Linked DNA regions of Homo sapiens: region 1 is linked to region 2. The links are contacts of gene promoters, found by promoter capture Hi-C in human tissues and cell types (Jung and others, 2019). All regions are on one chromosome and are shown on one strand. Each heading gives the region's core, a stretch centred on a gene start or on the middle of the fragment in contact. The rest is flanking DNA. Distances are from core to core; before and after follow the strand shown. Region 1 overlaps PIK3CB (phosphatidylinositol-4,5-bisphosphate 3-kinase catalytic subunit beta). Region 2 holds the start of FOXL2 (forkhead box L2).

What was found. The method cuts DNA at HindIII sites, captures the fragments that hold promoters and counts their contacts. A contact is called where the count stands out against the background at its distance.
Region 1: a fragment that was not itself captured here is called in contact with the fragment with the promoter of FOXL2 in region 2 in 2 of the 25 tissues and cell types used here (lymphoblastoid cells and mesendoderm cells).

The regions. Positions count from the first base shown.
Region 1 is chr3:138,700,345-138,707,100 of GRCh38, forward strand. PIK3CB (phosphatidylinositol-4,5-bisphosphate 3-kinase catalytic subunit beta) reads right to left here. Exons shown (of 24, transcript NM_006219.3): 12 at 4,099-4,149. Among named protein-coding and RNA genes, the nearest start is that of FAIM, 95 kb to the left of the region's middle. The HindIII fragment of the contact is 9,160 bases long and covers 1-6,756 here.
Region 2 is chr3:138,944,536-138,950,107 of GRCh38, forward strand. It overlaps FOXL2 (forkhead box L2), which reads right to left and starts at 2,602. Exons shown (of 1, transcript NM_023067.4): 1 at 1-2,602. The coding sequence starts at 2,187. The coding sequence ends at 1,057. FOXL2NB (FOXL2 neighbor) reads left to right here and starts at 2,682. Exons shown (of 3, transcript NM_001040061.3): 1 at 2,682-2,929; 2 at 4,985-5,104. The coding sequence starts at 2,830. RefSeq lists an enhancer at 1-577 and a silencer at 2,618-2,846. The HindIII fragment of the contact is 6,167 bases long and covers 1-5,268 here.

The sequences.
Region 1 (6,756 bases), core at 2,024-4,523, 240 kb before region 2:
TCCAAGGCTGGGGTAGGGAAAGTACTAGATGAGTGTGGAATACGCTGTTGTATCGGAAAGAAAGAAATGCTCAAAGAATGATAGGGACAAAGCAAAAAGAGACAAGAGACAGCTTAAATGGGCTCCCATGAGCCAGATCTGGGATAAATTAAACATTAAGATAAATGACAGTAACTAATTACAAATCATCGAATAAATGGAAATCACAAATCCATCTCCTATAAGTTAAAAAAAAGAAGAAAGAAAAAAGAGATGAATGGGGGAGAAGAGGAGTTCAAGGCTGCAGTGAGCTATGACTGTACCATTGCACTCCAGCCCGGGCAACAGAGCAAGACCCTGACTCTAAAAAGATAGATAGATAGATAGATAGATAGATAGATAGATAGATAGATAGATAGATAGAGATAGAGTAGAAGAAAAGCCTCTAACCTATGTTATAAGCCAACTAATAAATCCAAAACGAAAAGCAAGATTTAAAATTGGCAACCCACTGCAGTAACACTGATTCAAGGAAGATGTATTAGTGAATGCAAAAAGAAGTGGGTGACAGCTTGATCTGAAATAGAATGTTTACTTAGTGTCAAAATACGCCCCCACAAAACCTTTATTTATTAACTTTATACTAGAAAAACCTAGCAGACACCGTACTAACCAAGGGATAACAGTTAACTTCCAGAGTAGTGGTAAAAGCCGATATTGCCTCCTGATAAAATGCAGTAAGAAAACTACACCTTTACTTCTTTGATATTCACACTAAAAATGCATAACTGGGATCCTAAACATGACAAAACATCAGGCAAATCCAAACTGAGGGATATTCTATAAAATAATTGGCCTATAGTCTTCAGAAATGTCAGTCATTAAAGATTAAAAAAAAAAAAACAAAAAACAAACAAACAAAAAAACACTGAAGAACTGTTTCGGACTGAAGGAAGCTAAATATACCTGACAATGAAATGCAGCAAGTAACCAGAGATTGGATCCAAGACTTATAAAGCACATGACTGAGAAAACTGGCTAAATTTGAATAAAATCTGTAGATTATATAGAACTGAATCAGTATTATTTTCCTGACCTTCATGAATCTACTCAGGTTATGTATAAAAATGCCATTTTTTAAAGGAAATACTGAAGAATTAAGGGGTAAAAGGACATGATGTGGCCGGGCGTGGTGGCTGACGCCTGTAATCCCAGCACTTTGGGAGGCCGAGACGGGCAGATCACGGGGTCAAGAGATCGAGACCATCCTGGCCAACATGGTGAAACCCCATCTCTACTAAAATACAAAAAATTAGCTGGGCATGGTGGCGCATGCCTGTAGTCCCAGCTACTTGGGAGGCTGAGGCAGGGGAATCGCTTGAACCCGGGGTGGCAGAGACTGCAGTGAGCTGAGATCATGCCACTGCACTCCAGCCTGACAACAGAGTGAGACTCTGTCTCAAAAAAAAAAAAAAAAAGAAAAAGAAAAATCTAATAGATACTAGTAATTAATGCTATGGAATGTTAGAAAGGTATTTTTTAAAAAGTAGACCTATTCATACTCACATGACAATATCCACAAAGTATATTAAATGAAAAAAGTAGAAACTATATATATATATAGTTTTATATATGTATATATAGATCTCATTTATTTTAAAGGGGGAGATATTTACATATAAAGTTAGGATTGATAGCTACAAATTAAACTGTTTACAATTAGCTCTGGAGAGGAAGGTAGGTGGGAGTCACAGAGAGAAACTTTCATTTTTGGTTTACAATTTTTTTTTTTTTTTTTAAAGATACAGGGTCTTACTCTGTCATAACAGCCTCAACTTCCCAGGCTCAAGCTATCCTCCCACCTCAGCCTCCCAAGTAGCTGGGACTACAGGTCCATGCCACCACGCCCAGTTAATACTTTTTTTTTTTTTTGTAGAGATGGGGTCTCTCTGTATGGCCCAGGCTGCTCTCAAATTCCTGGGTTCAAGCAATCCTCCTACCTTGGCCTCTCAAAGTGCTGCGATTATAGGGGTGAGCCATCACACCCATCCTTACCATTTATTAATTGTACTTTGTGCCTAATAAAAAACAAACAAATTGTAAAGGTATATCAGACCTGGGCAAGATTACTGCATGCTCAGTGTGTAGCAAACTCTCTGATTTAGGTCAGGTACAAGTTTATGGTGGAAATAGTAAAAACTAATTCATTTATCTGAGGTTCAAGGAGCAATATTGTCTTATAAAGGGTAATGAGACAGGCACTTGAACCAAGACCTGCCTGTGTAACTATATCTCCTAAGCTTAAACTGTAATTATCTGTTTCAGTAATTGCCTAATAAGCTGATAAATTAACACCTGTAAGAAATTTGTTTTGTATCATTAAAGGTAACTGCTCTTGCAGTTGTCTCTTTTTAAAGTTTTTCTTTTATTTTTTAAATTTATACACAAACACACATTTTTTTACACTAGTCTCTGAGATTGCTTCCACTTTTATTTTACTGTTTTACTTTTTCAATAAACTCTTACTTCTTAGAGATTCCAGGCCATTCTCAAGTCTACATCCTCAGCAAGAAAAAGCAGTCAAACACAAGGATCCTATCACACCAGCCTCATCAATTGATCATGCAAATTTTTTTCAGGCCATATATATAATTTAAGCTATTAAAATTTGCACAATGTTTACAAATTAAATTATTATCTGAAACTGTCTCCAGAAACCTGAATAACACAAAACTTTGGGAAAAAAGACAGAGAGAGGAAGAATTTGGCTATTATGGTCCCAAACTGGCCCAGAGCCTTTCGTAAACTGTAAAGACTAGGAGTCTGGCACTACTGCTCTCTTTCCTAAGGTCAAGCATTCAAATTCAAAAGACAAAATTTAAGCCAAAAACACTAATAAGAAAGCAGTAGCAGATGACTCACACTGAGAAACTAGGGAAAGATTCTGAGAGCTCTAATGGCAAAGGAGAAGACAGCCTAGGCCAGACATTTCACCAACTGGCCAAAATTAAATAGTGCTTTGATTCTGTGAGAATGGGAAAAACATACACATTGTCTCCAGTTTGCCTCCTAGTCTCTATAACACTGCCATGCTACAGGTAGAATGACTTTGCTAAATAGACTTAAAAGTTGTAAACTGATGACGAGAATACTGGATTACAGCTCAACAAAGTCAAACTAGAAAGAGCCAAAAAATTAAATAAAAAAGCACAGATGGTATACATATTTATATATATATATGTAGATATAGATATAGATATGTAGATATAGATATAGATATATAAATGTAGATATAGATATAGATATATAGATGTAGATATAGATATAAATATAGCAACCCAAGTCAACAAAGTAACCTATTTGTAGTATCTGCATAGAAACAAATGGGAATAGTATATGTGGCAGAGACTACTATTTGACCCTCAATATCCATTCTCCACTTCTTCCTTTAGTACTAGAATCTCTTACTCTTAGCCAAGCGCATGACTGATGGCGTGGCTAAAGACTGCACCTCTCAGATGCGTGTGTACTTAGGCATGGTCAGTAAGATCTGGCCAATGACATGTAAGCAGAAATGATACATACTAATGATATCCTGAATAAGAATGGGGTGTGACCACTACTATTGTTTTTCCTGTTCCTGCTGGCTGGAATATAGTAAAGTAGGAAGCTGAAGCAGTAATATTAAACCATGAAATAGAAAATACATGTTAAATATGGCAGAGCACTAAGATGGAAGAAATTTGGGTCACTTGCATGATGATGTGTGTGCCTATTACTAAATCTGCTTTGTTACCTGAGAGAAATACAGTCTCCTCATTAAACTAAATAATATTCACTATGACAGCATTGTTAATCTATGAGGTGCCACAGAATCCCTTATAGATTACCTGCTAAACCTGTACTTGTATCAGAAAAGGGCTTGCCCACTGAACCCAGATCACCCACAAATTGGGCTGCCATTTAACAAAACACTATCATGTGCATACTTACCCACACTCACAGACTGTTCTTGCATATGAGTTACGGTCTTCTGTGAGTTCATTACTATGAGGCAAAGATACCTAATAATGTGCACAACTCCATAAGAAAGGGCCATTTAAAACTCTTGATACTTACTGACACATTAGCACTATCACTGCTTGCAATCTCAGCTGCCTTTTCAATAATCTGTTTAAAAAAATTAAAGAAAATGAATTTTGGCTCTCATATTTGTAGAATTTTAAGTGTAAATGACTACATTTGTACTTAGACTACATAAGATCTGGCATTGCTATGCTTTGTAACAGAAACATGAATTTTAAAAGCAAAATGATGCTTCTCAAGTGCTTTAAACTCTTGACAACAGGGAAATGATGGTATTGCTATAAGGGATTATGACTCCTAGGAAGCACTAAAATTGTCTGGAGATAAAACAAGTACCAGCTAGCATATATATGTCAAAAATTTTCTTTTAAGTATAAGTAAATGTATTCTAGTTAAGAAGACACAAAAACATGTAAGAGTTACTAAATTGTAGAATAAACTTTTCTCATTATGTTTTTTCTTCAATTAACAGACACCAAAAGTAGAAGTAACGACAATATCTAACTTGTACAATTGAAGGAGATCAATAAGCATATACTTATTTACATACTTTTTGTTTGTTTTTGAGATGGGGTCTATGTTGCCCAAGCTCGCCTTGAACTCCTGGGCTCAGGCAATTATCCCACCTCAGCCTCAAGCAGATGGGACTAAAGGCTGCTGTCCCTGGCTTATATATATTCAAAGACTAAAATCTCTATCCCAAACTGATCTTCTTCAAGAAAGACTCTCCAAGAGATTAGAAAGGCAAAAAAAAAAAAAAAAAACAAAAAACAAAACAAACAAAAAAAAAAACTTATATTTGCAAATATAGGAGGCTATATTTGTAAAAGTACTTCAAAAAGCATTTCATTTGAGCCAAAAGAGCCTATAACTGTTGAACACACATCATAACTGAACATGATAATAGTCACAGCTAAAACTATTAAATATATCACGAGTAGCTATGGCTTATGGATAAATTTCTATCAAAGGAATAACTAAAGACACTACATAAACGTATTGGATGAGTCAAAATGTAGCTTTTTCTACTCAGTGTATACTAACGTATATGATTCTTGCCATATTTGAAATTTATATTATAAGCACAAAATTTAATTTGGTTGTAAATTATTGTTCAGAAAAACATGTTTAAAAAACTTGAAATAAAAAATTACTCCTTAGATGGATAAAATCCAATTATAATGAAAATGAAGAAAGAGTGAATTACATAAATTTAATTTGCTAATACTTTAAATGTACAGGTAGATTATCTTAAGTATTTATAAAGTATAATATCAATCTTCAAAGGTAGTTTGTACTCAAGCGGATTGAGGAAATTAAATAAACTTTCAGCTTATTTTCTGAACATTTTTTTTTCTCCAGAGACAGGGTCTCTCTCTGTTGCCCAGGCTGGAGCACAGTGGCATGACCATAGGTCACTGCAGTCTGAAATTCCTGGGCTAAAGTAGTCCTCCTACCTCAGTCTCCAGAGTAGCTAGGACTATAGGCACATGCCACCACACCCAGCTAACTTTTAAATTTTTGTACAGACAAGGGTCTCTCTATGTTGTCCAGGCTATCTTGAACTCCTAGCCTCAAGTTATCCTCCTGGTTCAGACTCCCAAGCTGATGGGATCACAGGCTTGAGCCATGGTGCCTGGCTCCTAAATTCTGAGAATTTGTTCAAAGATTTCCTTATAAAAATCAACACTACCAGGTGCAGTGGCTCTCACTTGTAATCCCAGTACCAGGGATGCTGAGGCAGGACAGTTGCTTGAGGCAAGTAATTTGAGGCTCAATAATTGTGCCACTGCACTCCAGCCTGGATGACAGAGAAATACTCCATTTTTTAAAATAAAAAACACCATGCCAAACCTAAAGATAAAATATATGACAGCTCAGCTCTCTTAGCATGTAAATTACCATAGCCCTATATTTAGCCCCCATTAGATAATCTCTTTATCCCCAAGACATGCAGTGTGTATATTAAAGAAATATATTTAGAAATGAAGTCCTTACTATAGATTCTATAAAATAACTACATTAGGAAGCGCCACTAACAGACATATTCAACAAAAATCAATTGTTCTTTGAGTATCAATTCTAATACAGCAGTGACTATACCTTTAATATTTGAAACAACATTTTATGTATTCAGTTACATATGAATATATTTATAGCCCTTTAAGGGCGTGAGATATTAAAAAATAGAACAATTATGATTTCTTCATTTTATAAATAAGAAAAGTGAACTCCAGAGATGCCTTTTCTCTCTCTCTTTTTTTTGAGACGGAGTTTTGCTTTTGTTGCCCAGGCTGGAGTGCAATGGCACGATCTTGGCTCACTGCAACCTCCGCCTCCCGGGTTCAAGCAATTCTCCTGCTCAGCCTCCCGAGTAGCTGGGATTACAGGCATGTGCCACCATGTCCAGCTAATTTTGTATTTTTAGTAGAGACAGGGCTTCTCCATGTTTGTCAGGCTGGTCTCGAACTCCCGACCTCAGGTGATCCACCCACCTCGGGCTCCCAAAGTGCTGGGATTACAGGCGTGAACCACTGCGCCCGGCCTGGAGGTACCTTTTCTTACTTAGTCAGTGATAAAACCAAAACTAACAGAGTTAAGAAGGCTCCCTGATCCATGGTCTTCCCACTCAACAAAGCTGTCACTGTATGGGAAGTTTTGAAAGAGACAGATAGAGCTTAAACTATACAT
Region 2 (5,572 bases), core at 1,352-3,851:
CCAGGACTTGCATCGAAAGATCCGGGGACATTTGTTTTTGATTTTTTTCTTCAGATAGGGAGAGGGTGAAACTTCCCCAATTGGTAGACGAAACCATCTTTTATTGGATATATTCTCCTAACTCTGAACACAGCTTTTTGAAGGCCCAACAAAAACTCTAACGCAAATCTTCCAGAAGAGAAGATGAGGAATACTAAAGCTTTTGATTTTCATATTTGGATTTAGCAAACTCCAAGGCCACAATACTTCCCCGGTTGCCCGGTGAATTTTTTTTCCTTTTTTTTTTTTTAAATACTCTCTTAAAAAGTTCCACCGATCTTTCAAACAAAACATTAGCCAGCCGCCGGGGCCCGGAGGTGCCCGAAGCGACGGGACTGATAGCGGAGGAAACGCAGCCTCCCTCCGCGCCCGCCCGCGGTGTAAACCGAGTACAGGCCGTGGAGCCAGGCTGCCCCGGCTCCCGCTGGGTCCCAACCCCCGCCCCGCCTAGTGGGCCCCGCGGCAAGCGGCTTCTGAACAGCTTCAAGAGGGTTCGCGGAGCAAACACACGTATTGGTCCGTCCCTTTCTCGGGCAGCGCGGTCCCGCCATCAGTCCTGTCCGGCGCGTCTAGCCATGGACTGCACGGCAGTCGGGCGGGGAACGCGGAGAGCGAGCGCACCGACCTGTGAGAGAAGGCCAAGAGGTCTGCGCTGCCGACGCCCGGTCGCACCTCCGCCCCGGGCCCTTTCCGCGGTGAATTTGGGCAGGAGACGCTGGGGCTCCGGAAAGAGACGAGCCCAGTAGAAAGCGCGCAGAGAGGCAGCTTCAGGCCAGGGGAGTGCAAGGTCACAGAGGTCAGGGAGGTGAGCACAGGAGGACATAAACTGAGGGGACAAAGAGGAGCGACAGGAGCTTAGGAAAGCGAAAAAGCACAGAGGGACCCTGGGCGCTGGCTCCAGAGGCGGGCCCAGAGGGTGTGAGGTCAGGCTGGCGGCGGCGTCGTCGGCTGCGACCGGGGCCGGCGTCGCGCGTCCCTGCATCCTCGCATCCGTCTGCACCGGCATGCGGTGGGCTCTCAGAGATCGAGGCGCGAATGCAGCGCGCCGGTCTTGCTGTCGTGGTCCCAGTAAGAGCAATGCATCATGGCGAGCTCGGGCTGCCGGGCACAAGCGAACTGCAGGCCCGGCGCACTGGTGGGCGCGGGCGCCGGGGGCGCGGCGGTGGCTGGGCTGGCAGGGCTGAGCTGGCCCGGCGGCGGCGCGGCGGCCCCGTGGTGCGGTGGGGCAGGCGGCGGTGCGGCGGCCGCGTGCAGATGGTGTGCGTGCGGATGCGGGTGGGGGTGCGGCGGAGGCGGGGGTGCGGCCGGCGGGCCTCCCAGGCCATTGTACGAGTTCACTACGCCGGGGGGCAGCGCCATGCTCTGCACGCGTGTGTACGGCCCGTACGAGGCGGCCGGGCCCGCCAGCCCCTTGACCACAGCGGCCGCGCCAGGGCTACCGGGGCCCGCGGCTGCAGCCGCAGCTGCTGCAGCCGCTGCGGCTGCCGCCATCTGGCAGGAGGCATAGGGCATGGGTGAGGGAGGCTGCGGTAGCGGCCACGAGTTGTTGAGGAAGCCAGACTGCAGGTACTTGGGGGGCGCCAGGTAGCCGTAGCCGTCGGCCCCGGCGCCCGCCACGCCGCACCCGCCTGCGGCGCCTCCGGCCCCGAAGAGCCCCTTGCCGGGCTGGAAGTGCGCGGGCGGCGGCCGGAAGGGCCTCTTCATGCGGCGGCGGCGCCGGTAGTTGCCCTTCTCGAACATGTCTTCGCAGGCCGGGTCCAGCGTCCAGTAGTTGCCCTTGCGCTCGCCGCCGCCCTCGCGCGGCACCTTGATGAAGCACTCGTTGAGGCTGAGGTTGTGGCGGATGCTATTTTGCCAGCCCTTCTTATTCTTCTCGTAGAACGGGAACTTCGCGATGATGTACTGGTAGATGCCGGACAGCGTGAGCCTCTTCTCCGCGCTCTCGCGGATCGCCATGGCGATGAGCGCCACGTACGAGTACGGGGGCTTCTGCGCCGGGTCCGGCTTCTCCGGGGCTGTCCCGCCGCCACCCCCACCGCCCTTGCCTGGGCTCGGCGGCGGCCCTTCTGGCTCCTTGACTGTGCGACCGGTCTCTGGGGCCAGCAGGGCCCCCGCCGCGTCCTCGGGCTCGGGGTAGCTGGCCATCATGACAAAGCCGGCGCGCCGCGGCCGGGCCGCCTCTGCTCTCCGCTCCAGGCGCTGGCGCGGCAAAGAGTTGGGGCGCACGAGTCCGCTTACGGCCAAGTCTCAAACTTCTGGAGACTGCGGATGCCGCCCGCGCTTGCTTGCTGGAGGCCTGTCGCTGCTCTCCCCTCTCCTTCCCCTTCCCCTAGGGAGCGGCCGGCGGGAGTGGAGCTCAGCCTCTGGCCATGGGGAGTCCGCCCAACAGAGAGGGGCTCCGGCCTCGCCGCCCCTCCCCGCTCAGGCCAGTCCCCGCCTTGGTGGGTTTTCTTTTCTGCGCTCTTCCCCTCCCCCCGCCCCCCGGTTTCCCGAAGCACGACCCGCGTCTCTGGCGGAGCTGCCTCCTGGAGTCCCTAGTGCGCCAGGAGCCTCGCTCTGTTCTGATTCGTATGGGCTCCACCGAGTTCCGCTTGCGTCAGGCGCCTTCGCCCCTATAGCGGGGCGGCCAGCCGCGCACGGGCGAGTTCATCTCCAAGTCACTTTTTGTAAACGCCCCGCACAGCCTGGACCGGCCTGCCCCCGCCCAGCGAGCCTCAGGGGCCCAGCCGACAGCCAGGCTCACGCGCCCTTGAAATCTGCCGGTACTCGCTCTGCGGGCTGGGCTGGGAGATGACGAGGACCCCGGTGGGGTCTGCCCGCACCCGGCCAAAGCCCAGGAAGCTCGGGCCCCAGCGAGGAAAGGCGCTCCAAGCCTCCTCGCGGCTTTCAGGTGAAAGAAAACGACTCCTTTGCTCTGCCGTTTGCTGCCGTCTTGAGGCTGAACTTCTAGCTCGGGGCTGGGGAGGGGCGAGACGGCGAGGGGGCTGGACGGGGTAGGGTGGGGAGAGCTGCTCTGAGGCTTTGGGAAAGTCAGCCCAGAAACGGGTGTGACTGTACGAAGAAGCCTCGGCCTGGCCTGTCCCTCGCGCTCTCAGAGTGACTGGGCTGGAATGGGGCAGGGGAGAGGATCTCTGGAAATAGTCGTCAGGGGCGCCGCCTGAATCACCTCTGCCTCTCCCTGCGTTACCAGTGGATCTAGGAACCAGGAATCCGTGTACTAATCCTACGGGGTTGGAGTGAAGGTTGGATGTGTGCTTTAACAGCACCAAGTAGATGCCCCTCAGCTATTGCACTAACACAGGCGGGGCTGTTGCCCGGGACTTTGCGGGACTGTGTATGTGTGTGCACAGGGGTCACATATGGAAGTCATGGAGAGGAGCTGTCCTTGAGATGGGTGAGATACCAGGTGCATGTGTGCTGCTCAGAAACACAGGTATGCACATGTACAAGGTGTGAGATTTGTATTTACGAGGTAAAACACACTTATACTGATAGTTATGTAATATGTTCATCAAGTATTAGAGTAAATGTAGCTGGTGGATATAGCATCTTCTCTTTTTCTCCTTTCTTACTTCTTTCCTTCCCCCCTTTCTTCCTTTCTTTCACAATTCTTCGATGCCTCTTTCCCTCCCAGTGTATGTATTTTGCCACAGACTGGGAAGACAAACATCAGGCTGAGGGAGGGACTTGTTCAAATCTCTCTCCTGATGAGACATTTGTTCTGATCTTTCTCCAAAGAATCAGGAGTTAGTTGTCACCTACCTTAAGCAGAATTCTGATGGGAATCCAATTATTTCAGCATGTACAGAGATTGTTTCAGGGAAAATCAGGTGTGCCTTTTAACAGTGTGCTCCTTAACAGTGCCTTTTAACTTGGCCTAAACAAAAAGTCTGCAGTCATAAAGTATGAGAGAGATGGCCAGTGTTTTGAATCCTCAAGCCCCAAACTCCTTGGTGCTGAGGAGGGGGGCAAGGCCACCTTATGGAGGAAGGTGGACTGAATGGATGTCATATAGCTGTGCATTAGTGATTGGCATGTCTGGAGTGGCTGACTCAATGCCTGTCACTGCCTCTTCCTCCCAGGCTGTTTAGACTCTGAGGGTTCTCCTGAAGCCCAAGGAGCCTTCAGCGGCCTGTGGTTCCAGCATCCACAGGCCATCTACAAGTGTTGTCTGCTGCTCACTCAGGCCTCTGATCTGCATTCTGAGATGAAAGGGAGGGAGGACAAGGGTGGTAGGGCTCTTTGGAATTCAGCATCTTGAAGATGACACCAGAGAGGTCAGCAGGGCAGCCCTTGCCTGGTCACAAGGATGAGAGGGAGCAAGGCTATCCCCAAAGTAGCTTGGTTTTTTTTATGGGCGGTCTCCCACTGCACCCAACAGACATGGGGGAAGCAGCACTTCCGCAGAATCCCTGCTGCTGCTTTCTGAGCAGGAGTGCAGATGTTTTTCTTCTTCCTTACCCCCATCCTTGCCCAAGCTTTGGGTGGGAGTGGTGAGTCCGGTTTGGGGCTGCTGCAGATTGGCCTCAGTGCCTATCCTCCCCCAGCCAGGGCCTGGGCAGGGGGAAAAACAGCTGGGTCTGGCCCCATCCTGGTGGGGGCTCCTCTCTCCTTTTCTCTCCTTTTTTTTTTTCTTGACCACCCAGGCTGGCTCTCTGCGTCTCTCTGTCTTTCTTTCTTCTTCTCACAGGCATTTCCGCTGCTCAGCCCTGCAGCAGCCAGGTGTAACAGCATTGTTGTGTGTGTCATCACTTCCCTGAATTCCACACTCGGCTCCCTTTTCAGCCTTTAAAGAGCCTGTGTGTGTATGCATGTGCGTGTGTGTGTGTGTGTGTGTGTGTGTAGGGGTTGGGGGCAAATGAAGGAGTTCCTCTGAAGGATTTTCAGAATAGAAAGGAGTTCTGCTCTGAAAATACTGATTTCTGACTGTCCCGTAGAGGAACAGAATCCCCAGCCCTGGTGAAGAAGAGGATGCCTGATGCGTGCACCCTGGGAAGGGCTGGAATCGGTCTCCCCAAGATGTGCCTTCACATGGCTGTCCGGCATTCGAAGGCTCAGAAAACAGGCAAGAAAATGCGGGCGGGAAAGCTGGCAGAATGATTACTTTCAGGTCCCCTCCAGGCTTCTGCGGAAAAGCCAGGGGCTTCGGGCTGGAGATAGAGGAATCTAGGGAGAGAACAGAATCCTCTCCTTGCCGGCCCAGCCAGAGGTGGGTGAACCGGGCGCTCCAGGAAACGGTGCGGGGCGCCCTGATTTACTTCTCAACCTTCGGAGGTAGGCTGGTTGCTGGCGAGGTCGGGATCCTCTCTGAACAGGGCATACTGTGCCTAGGTTTTGTGGACGCCAGGGCCGGTTCCTTTTCTCCCCGCGGCATTGGGGCGACGCAGGGCCCCCGGCTTAGTGACCTTGGGGCGGCGCTCACCTCCAAAGGCCAGGGTGGTGGGCTGGGCAGAACTCACTGCCTCTTTGCCCCAGTTTTCCAGGGTCCCGCAGCTGCAATTCAGCAGCCACCGGCGCCTCCTGACCGTGGTCC